Regions from separate parts of the Homo sapiens genome. Here regions 1 and 3 are each linked to region 2. Evidence: promoter capture Hi-C in human tissues and cell types (Jung and others, 2019). All regions are on one chromosome and are shown on one strand. The core of a region is centred on a gene start or on the middle of the fragment in contact, and the rest is flanking DNA. Distances in the headings are between cores, read along the strand shown. Region 1 overlaps LOC107985173 (a long non-coding RNA gene). Region 2 holds the start of AFG3L2 (AFG3 like matrix AAA peptidase subunit 2). Region 3 overlaps LDLRAD4 (low density lipoprotein receptor class A domain containing 4).

Region 1 (3,281 bases), core at 131-2,630, 1.0 Mb after region 2:
CCACATTTCTTTCAAAGCTCAGAATAATTTAAAGTTCCAACAGCTTTAAGTTTGAATTATTTAATTAGACAAAACCTCTTAGGGGGATAAGGCTTCTTGCAGCCCATTAACCCCTAACCTCCATCCTAACTACTTTTCATCTGTGCAGGGAAAGCTCAGTGGCAGGAACTCTGCCGGGTGGGAGAAGACGGGAGGGGAGGACAGAGGCAGCCTGGTCTTTGCCCACTCACATTTTTGTCTGGGCCTCGCTTCATTTCATCTGTTAAATTTGATCTACTCAATAACAAACTGAACAGAGAACCAACAGGCAAACTTAAATAAAATATAAAGCAGAGGATGTAATATAAAGTTAAATTTCAGTCATGAAAAGTTCTTTTTATTTTGGTATGGAGTATTATACATTATAAAGAGAGAGAGCAACACAAAGCACAAATAGGAGAGTTTAACACACCTTTTTCTCAGTCCTTCATGATCAAATATATAATAAGTACCTCTACAGAATATTTGAATGAGATAAGGTTTATCAAGTATCTAAAATACATTTAAATGTACACCTTATAAACAGACACTGAACTGATAACAACTAGTAATATATTATATTACAAACAAACAGAAAATAAGAGTAAAAATTACGTATCTCTGGCTATGAAATAATATTATAAATACCAACTGTAAAAACAAAATAGTAAAATCCCACTCATTTTGAAATTATAAAAACGGCTTAAAAACAACCTTAGGACCAAAAAGGAAGTCAAGTCTGAAATTGCAGAATATTTTGAAAATAATGATAGTAGGAGCATTCCAAATGAAAATTCATGACTTACTGCCAAACCTTATTTCTCAGAGGAAAATCTAATTTAAAATAAAACTTAGCTTGTAAAAAAGTAGTGGAAAACAAACCTAGGAAAAGCAGAAGGGAAAAATTAATAAAGTTGTATATTGTAAGTAAAAAAAAAGATAGAATTGATACATATATTAAGGGCTATACATTTAAGTGAAAAATAAATAATAATTCTAATAAAATTCAATAGATAGCTAAATCAAGAGGTAAGTAGGAAGAGATTAAGAAGGCCAAATTAGAAATGAGAAGAGAAAAAGAACCAGATTTGAGAAAAATAAAATATTTATAAAAGAATACCTCAATCAGTACTAGACAAGATTAAATCTAGGATAAAATGAAAGTATAACCACACAACTGATGAAACTGACAGAGAGAGACCAAAAGATTTACTCATTTTCAAAACTTTTGTAAGAAAGTTTTTCCAAACTTAGAAGAAACAGATGAATTTTTCTGTTACTTTGATTGTTCAAGAGTTTGTTGATTACTCTTAGCACACCTAAATAAAAGCTTTACTAAAACCAGATAAAGGTAGTATACAACAGGAAGACTATAGATCAGTATCACTTATAAATATTGATGGCAGATAAATAAAACATTAAGAAATGGATCTGGCAGTACAATGAAAGAATACATAAGGATAGTAATGGACTATAACTCATTGGTGGTAAAAGGAACTCATGTGTTCATGGAACACAAGGACGGGGCAAGGAAGGAAGAAAAGCAAGAGGGAGGAGCTAAGAAGAGGCAAAAGCTCTTCCCTATAGTAAAATGCCAACCAATAAATATACAAAAGAAATGACAGAGTTTGAAATACTATGTTGCAACCAGCATAGTAATATTTGATACAGGCAAAAATCATTAAGAGATTCTAAAATTTATGGGTAAAATTTAGATAAGAAAAAGATACTTTGTAATCTTGGGTATTGGCCCACCTCTACAGATTACTTATTAATTACAAAAAAGAAAATGTTAATTTAACCTCTTAGGCATCATGGTATCTAGGTTCACATGACCAAAAATGGATAGACTGACATCCGATGTCTCCTGATAGGTGGGATGCGCTGAAAGGACACAGCGTCAATTCTACCGTATTCCTGCTAAAAATGCATAAGCTGAGTCTAATCATTAGGAAACAGAAAGACTAGATTTGAGGGGCAATCTGTAAGCTATTGACCTGTATTACTCAAAATTTCACTGTCATGAAAGAAAAATAAATCCGGAGAAACGTGTCCACATTAAAACAGGCTAAAGGGACAAGACAACTAAATTGAATGCACCAGATTGGGTTGGATCCTGGATCAGAGGAATAAAAGCTGTAAAAAACATTGTGGGGACAATGGCAAAATTTAAATGGAGACTGTCGTTTAAATAATAGCATTGAGTCAATATTAACAATTTCCTAATTTGATAATTGTCCCTGTGATTGTGTAAGAGAATAATCTGGTTTTTAGTACATAGATGTTGAAGCATTTAGAGGAATAGGTTAATGATACCTGCAACTTCCTCTCTAATAGTTTAGTAAATATAACTCTAAGCAGCAGGGAATGAATATAGTAAGAGGTTAACAGTTGATAAATTTAAAGAATATAGAAAAACTCATTTTTATGTGAATTTTATAACTATAAAATTATAAAGTTTTAACTTTAATGTCTTATTTTTCAGAAATAATTTGTTAAAAAATAAAAATTATTAATCATTCTAAGAAGTTGAAGATGGTTCAATATTAGGACTGACTAAAATAATTCACAGTATTAAGGGTTCCAAAGAAGACACTGTATGTTCATCTCTACAGTTTGCAAAGTTACATTTCACAAAAATTTCACAAGTATTTGGCCGGATGCAGTGGCTCACGCCTGTAATCCCAGCACTTTGGGAGGCCGAGATGGGCGGATCACGAGGTCAAGAGATCGAGACCATCCTGGCTAACACGGTGAAACCCCGTCTCTACTAAAAATACAAAAAAATTAGCCGGGCGTGGTGGCGGGCGCCTGTACTGCCAGCTACTCGGGAGGCTGAGACAGGAGAATGGCGTGAACCCAGGAGGCGGAGCTTGCGGTGAGCCGAGATGGCGCCATTGCACTCCAGCCTGGGCGACTGAGCGGGACTTCGTCTCAAAAAAAAAAAAAAATTTCACAAGTATTTTTAATCTAAAAAATAATCACTGTATATTTATATATACATATATATTTATATATACACATAATATTTATTTGGATCAATTGATCCAACAGCTAAAAGTTAGAAATAATCTATGCCCATCAATGGATGAATGCATAAGCAAAATATGATATATCTATACAATGGAATATTACTCAGCCTTATAAAGGAGGTTCTAACATGCTACCACATGGAAGAACCCTGAGTGCATTGCAGGGAGGTAAAATATCTTTTCCTTCTTCCGTTGTGAGTTCTTGCTGGGGGAGCCTTCTAACAGCAGCAA
Region 2 (3,442 bases), core at 483-2,982:
TAGAAAATATGTTTTATATGACTTGACTCCTCTTAATATTTTTATGGCCTACAATATGGTTTATTTTGATAAGTGCTCTGTGAAAACTTGAAAATAATGTGTATTCTGTTGTTATGAGTAGTTTTCTATAAATGTCTATTTGATTTAGTTGGTTGTGTTTAAGTCTTCTATATACTTACTATTTTCCTGTCTAATTGTTCTGTCAATTATCAAAAGAAGGATTTGAAATCTCCAAATATAATTGGAAGTTGTGGTTCTGTCAGTCTTTGCTCCATGTATTTTAAGCTTCTGTTAATGGGAACAAAGATGTTTAGGGTTGTTATGTCCTACTGATGAACTGACCCCTTTATAATAATAATAATAATAATAATAATAATAATAATAATTCTCTTGGCCAGATGTGGGTGGCTCACATCTGTAATCCCAGCACTTTGGGAGGCTGAGTCAGGAGGATTGCTTAAAGCCAGGAGTTTGAGACTAGCCTGGGCAACAAAGTGAGACTTCAACTCTACACAAAATAAAAAAAGTCGAGTGTGGTCGAGCGTGTGTGGTCCCAGCTACTTGGGAGGCTGAGGCAGGAGGATCCCTTGAGCCCAGGAGTTAGAGGCTGCAGTGAGCTACGATTGCACCATGGCATTCCAGCCTAAGTGACAGACTGAGACCCTGTCTCTGGAAAAGAAACCCGATCCTCTTCATCCTTAGTGATATTCTTTTCCCTGCAATTAATTTTCTTTGGAATTTCCTTGCCCTAAAATCTATTTGTCTACTCAGTTTTCTTTTGTGTGAGCATGGTATGATGGTGTATCTGGTATATCTTTTTGTTATTGTTTTACTGCCACTGGGGTAATCACAGGACTCACCTGGTTTTGTCTCCTGTCTCTCAAGGATTACTGTCCTTTGCCTGAGGTCCAGCGTCGCCAGCCTGGGCGACAGAGCGAGAGCCCGTCTCAGAAAAACCCCCAAGTCCCCCACCTCAGTTCAAAGACCTCTCCTTTTTCCTCCGCTGTCACGGTACAGGAAACAATGTGTAGTTTCCACTACCTGGAAGACTCGACTTGCTCTCCGAGAACCAGTTCCCCGACAGGGTTCCTAGAGCGCAGGCTGCACGGCACAGCCCCAACATTCCCTGCTGCTTGTGAATCTTCGCATCGCCCTCCCAGGGGTCAGGAATGTGTGCTTCGGTGTCTCCAGAGCCTAGCACCACCCCATGACTCAGCTGGCGCTCGGAGGGTCCTTCCATCTGCCGCCGCTGGGGCCTTCGCTACTTCCCCCTCGCTCCTACTGGCTGGCCCACCCGGCTGCCCAGGCTCGGAAGCCCAGGATCCCAGTCACGCGTCTCCCCTTAGTCCCCGCCTCCAGCCACGCCCCCCACACCCCTCCGTCGGCCCCGCCTCCAGCTCCTGCTCGCTCTCCTAGTCCTTCCTCGGCCCCACCTCCAGCCACGCCCCCCACGTGCGCCATCAGCCCCGCCCCCAGCTCTCGCTCGCCCTCCCGAGTCCTCCCTCGGCCCGGTCCCCGCCTCTAGCTCCCCCTTGCCCTCCAGGGTCCTTCTCGGCCCCGCCTCCTGCCGCGCCCCCAACGCTGCTCCGTCGGCCCCCGCCTCCGGTCCCGCCCCCATGCTCCTCCCATTTGGTCCTGTCTTCTGCACTGGCGGAGGTCGCGGCGGGCCTCGGAGAGGAGACGCCGACGTCAGCGCGCCGGGGCGGGGCTGGCGGCAGGAGACGCCGCGTTGAGAGCTTGGGCTCCTCCGTGAGCCGCCGGCGCGCTTCGCTGCCTGGCGGCCTTTCCCCGAGCCGAGCCCGCTTCCCGAGGCCGCCAGTCGTCGCCTGCCCGCGCCTGCGCAGCGTCCCGGGCCGAGAGGGCCACGGCGGCGGCCATGGCGCACCGCTGTTTGCGGCTGTGGGGCCGGGGCGGCTGCTGGCCCCGCGGCCTACAGCAGCTCCTCGTGCCTGGCGGCGTGGGCCCGGGCGAGCAGCCCTGCCTCCGGACGGTGAGTCCTACCTGGGCGCCCGGCGCCCTCCACCCTGCCTCGGGCCCACTTCCGGCTCGGGAGAGCGGACGTCAAGGTCACTGGCCCCCGCCCTCCGGCCGCACGCGGGCCGTCCCTGCCGAGGGCCTGGGCGCCCTGCGCTGTCTCTCAGCCGGCCCCGGGAGCGCCGATTCGCGCTCAGCCCTGCCTGTGGGATTCAAGTTTTGAAAACGCGCAGCTTCAGTAGAGCCGGGTTTTCGCGCTTCACCGGGGCGGTTGAAGCCTCGAAGGTCATGTTGGCTTGGTGGCCGTCCTTGTCCCCGCTTTCGTGTCCCCGGAGCACGGAACGAAGGCGTCTGTAATTTTGAGTCAGCAGCACGAGCACGATGTAGTCGCAAGGACGGGTTTTGGAGTCGGGCTGCCTAACCTCTCCGAGTCTCCGTGTTCCCGTCTGTTGAATGGGGCCATTGCGGGCATTCCAGGACTGGCAGTATTAGCTATTATTATTAAGAATGTCACCTTTTCATAGCAGGGACTCTGTGTTCGTTGCATATCAGGGCCTGCTCTCAGCAGGAGGCTCTTTCTCTGTTGGTAGCCATCCCTCTAGATACACACACGGGACCTGATACGTGTTTCTGACATAATGATAGAGTGTTGACAGAACCATGGCCGTGATCAGTCTCAATGAAAGGTTCACGTGTCGAATAGTCGCTCTCACTGTTTAAGTGACACGGTTCCTCAGCCTTGCACTGGTGTACGGGTGGTGGTTGAGGTCCCCGGGTCGGCCACGGGAACCTGGCTTGGCCTCCTGCTATCCCAGCGCCCTTGTAGTCAGCTCAACGTCTTCACTGTAAGGGGAGATAGGCTAGTGCCGGGGCTCACGCCTGCGATCCCAGCACTTAGGGAGGCCGAGGCGGGAGAATCGCTTGACTCCAGGAGTTGGAAACCAGCTTGGGTAGGGTAGCAGACCCTCCGATCTACGATTTTTATTTTTATTTTTATTTTTTAAGAGACGGGGTTTTGCTTCTTCGCCCAGGCCGGAGTGCAGCGGCGCAAACACAGCTCACTGCAGCCCCAAACTCAAGCGATCCTCCCGCCTCAGCCTCCGGAGTATCTGGGACTACAGCACCGTGGTTGATTTTTAAAAAGTTTCTGGAGAGGCCAGGCGCGGTAGCTCACGGCTGTAATCCCAGCAGGCGGGTGGATCACGAGGTCAGAAAATCGAGATCATCCTGGCTAACACGGTGAAACCCCATCTCTACTAAAAATACAAAAAATTAGCCGGGCGTGGTGGCGGGCGCCTGTAGTCCCAGCTGCTCGGGAGACTGAGGCAGGGGAATGGCGTGAACCTGGGCGGTGGAGCTGGCAGTGAGCCAAGAGCGGGCCACTGCACTCTAGCCTGGGCGACAGAGCGAGACTCCGTCCCAAAAGATAGGGTTCACCATCTTGCCCAGTTGCCCAGGCTGGCCTGGA
Region 3 (3,172 bases), core at 597-3,096, 1.0 Mb before region 2:
AGGCAGTGGCCAGCAGATCCTCCAGTTCCCCTTGGCACCCAGCAGGTGCCCAGTAAATACGTATTTCCTGAGCGAACACATGAGTGAAGGAAGACACTTACGTGAAGCTTCCCTGAGTACTATACACAGCGCAGAGAAGGCTCAGCAAACACCTACACAATTAACCCAGCCCTAGCTGCGCCTGGCAAGGGGCATTTCCCAGGTGGAGGTGCTGCTCCTCAGCCTGCTTGGCTGGGACCCTCCGGGCTGGTTTTCCCACCACCCCACTAGAAGAGTTGAGATGATGATTACAAGTGGTGAGCCTGCTGCACTTACACTTCCCACAAAGTCCTATCCAGCAAAGGCCTTCAGAGGTCATTGACTTAAATGCCCTCAGGCTACAGAGAGAGAGCAAGCGCTGCCCCATGGAGGCGCAAGAACTGCGCCCAACACTGGCAGCAGGAGAGCAGGACTGACCCTGGGCCTCTTGCCCTGAAGGCACTGCTTCCCATGCTACTCCTGAGGCCCAGGAAGCTCCCTAAACCCAAGTAGCTTAAATCAAGAGAGAAGGAGAGGGGGGAATACAGGAAGAGGCAACTTACCCAGGACGCAAGGTCACAGTCAAGATCCCCCCCAAGGCAGCAAGCACATGGTCATCATTCTACACACACACGCACACACATGCACACACGCACACACACGCACACACACACGCACACACACATGGAGGTTCTATTTATACTGGGAAGATGGGCAGGACTAACCAGGAAATAAATTAATTCAATATTGCACTTGAAAAATGTCATTAAGTCCCTCCCATAACAGAGCAACAGTTACTAAGGAAATAGAGCACGTCAAATGGAAAAACACCCCCACAGGAAGGGACATTTTAAAAACATGAACACTCACAAACCTAACCAAGTAAGTTACAGGGTATGTCTGCCTTACCAGTTATTCACAAAAACTTATATGAAACGCAGTCCTCCTCAGAGTCATTCAGGAATACAAACTGAACTGTGTCCGTATTATATCTTTCATTAAAAGACACTGTAAAAACAGATACATGGGGTTCAGGAAATGTGAGGGTCACACAGGGGCACGGAGGCCAAAATCCAATGGAGAAGTGAAACAGCCTTTTTTCCAAAATCAAAGTAGCACTCAAAAAACCGTAGTGCATAAAGAATTGACGCTGCAGTTTCATTTTTTATTTCCTCCTGCTGTGGACAGACTGTTTCGCTGGCGGAATGTCGGTTACCTAGGTGACAGCTCCACAGCCATGGCGACTGCTCCAGGCCCCACAGACGCTCAGGGCCGAGCCCCGGCCTGTGGATGCCGATCCCTGGCCACTCTACCCACCAGAGAAGTTCCAGGGAGAAAGGAACGCTGCCAACCAAAGAGGTCATTCTAAACCTCGGCAAACTGGGGCTCTGCTGCAAAATTTAAAAAAAATAAAAATGACCATGTTTGAGAGCTGCACGGCACAGCTCACCTATGCATCATCTCACCCTATGTTCATTTAGGATCAAAGAGGCAAAGGGCTTGTCATGAGACAGATGGGAGAAAAAGTGGGGAAAAGACCCTTGAGAAGCTATTTCCAACTTGAGCTGGGACCAGGTGTCCCACCAAGGGAGATGTCACACGTCTCCATGTGAGTGCCTCAGAGCTCATGGATAGTGCAGACCTTGGCAACGGCCAGTCAGTCTCAAGATCTCCTAACAGTAAAGAAAAGGAGGTGCTACAAATAAAACACCTCTGCCTCCAGGCAGCCAGCCGTAGGCAGAGAGCCCCAGGTAGGGGACCCACTCTGCTTCTGGTACCCGTGGTGACTCCCGGCCCTGGCTCCCATCTCCTCTTTTATACAATGAGGAGGTGAAACTGGAGGTCCCTCCCATTCCAAAAAGTCCCCTATGGCCATGTCTCTGGCCGAGAGAGAGGGCAAATGGGCATAAAAAAGGATACAGTGGGCGGGCACGGTGCCTCACGCCTGTAACCCCAGTGCTTTGGGAGGCTGTGGCAGGAGGATTGCTTGAGCCCAGGTGTTTGAAACCCACCTAGCCAACATAGAAAGTCCCCATATCTACTAAAAATATAAAAATTAGCTGGGCATGGCTGTGCACACCTATACTGGGGAGGCTGAGGCAGGAGGACTGCTTGAGCCCATGAGTTCAAAGCTGCTGTGAGCTGTGACTGCACCACTGCACTCCAGCCTGGGCAACATAGCAAGACCCTGTCTCTTCAAAAAAAAAAAAAAAACTAAAGAGAAACAAAAGAAAGGGACACAGTGCAGAAGCACAGAAAATCCACATGGAAATGCAAATCTGAGAGCAAGTCAGAGAAACAGGCTGCCTATAGCCAGGGAAGACTGAGTTGGAGTGTGATGAATTTTTCATGCTACTTTTCATCTCTGTGATGTGGGGGGGCAAAATAACATGTAGCTTTTGTAACACAACCTCCAAGCCATCCTCACCCTGGGTAGCTCAGTGGGATCTGGTTACTTGTTCAGCATAATGTAGTTCAGGGTAGCGTAGTGCCTTGCTGTAGGTCACCAATTCAGGAAGCAAGTACAAAACCCAAAACATCGATTCAAAGACACACACAGGCTGCAAACAGGAAAAGCAATAATTATATTAGAACATTCTTTAAAATGTCACCTTGACAAATCCAACACTTGATAAATCCTGAGGCTATATTCAAACCAAGTTGGAGAGAGTTCCCCCTAAAATAAACAGGATAACTGTCCTTAATGCATTAGTAAGTCTATAATTATCGACTCATATGATCTAGCAGCAGAGGAAGCCGCAAGGAGTCATATATCCGACCCCTGTGCTTTGTGGAGGAGGCGATCCAGAGGCTCAGGGAGAGGGGACAGGTTGAAGATGAGTGTGGGAGGAATGCAAGCCAGGGCTGGAACCAGGTGTCTGGATCCTGGCCCAAGCTTCCAGTTCCACTGTCTACACACAGCGGCCACAGGAGACACTGGCTCAGGAGGGAGAGCCTGCAATGCTAGGAAGACAGCCGTGCACACCTGCACCAGCCGCTCGCTGGGAATCAGGGAATACTGGGAAGATCTCTGCTTTCCAGGGCCCGAACCAGGCCATTCCCACAGCACCCACATGCACAAGGGAATGGGAAAGGGTCAGGGCTTGGCCCAGGGGCAGATGATCCCTGAGCAGACGTGCATTCTGGTCTGAGC

What was found. Contacts are between HindIII fragments. The study calls those that stand out against the background at their distance.
Region 1: a contact is called between a fragment that was not itself captured here and the fragment with the promoter of AFG3L2 in region 2, in 1 of the 25 tissues and cell types used here (lymphoblastoid cells).
Region 3: a fragment that was not itself captured here is called in contact with the fragment with the promoter of AFG3L2 in region 2 in 1 of the 25 tissues and cell types used here (dorsolateral prefrontal cortex).

The regions. Positions count from the first base shown.
Region 1 is chr18:11,369,910-11,373,190 of GRCh38, reverse strand. All of the region lies in intron 1 of LOC107985173 (a long non-coding RNA gene), which reads left to right. Among named protein-coding and RNA genes, the nearest start is that of LINC01928, 83 kb to the left of the region's middle. The HindIII fragment of the contact is 4,274 bases long and covers 1-3,281 here.
Region 2 is chr18:12,375,517-12,378,958 of GRCh38, reverse strand. AFG3L2 (AFG3 like matrix AAA peptidase subunit 2) reads left to right here and starts at 1,732. Exons shown (of 17, transcript NM_006796.3): 1 at 1,732-1,990. The coding sequence starts at 1,877. RefSeq lists enhancers at 434-963, 964-1,495 and a silencer at 1,268-2,167. The HindIII fragment of the contact is 16,096 bases long and covers 1-3,442 here.
Region 3 is chr18:13,380,137-13,383,308 of GRCh38, reverse strand. The region is part of intron 2 of LDLRAD4 (low density lipoprotein receptor class A domain containing 4); the gene reads right to left. Among named protein-coding and RNA genes, the nearest start is that of LDLRAD4-AS1, 46 kb to the left of the region's middle. RefSeq lists enhancers at 1,176-1,800, 2,492-2,991, 2,992-3,172. The HindIII fragment of the contact is 4,118 bases long and covers 1-3,172 here.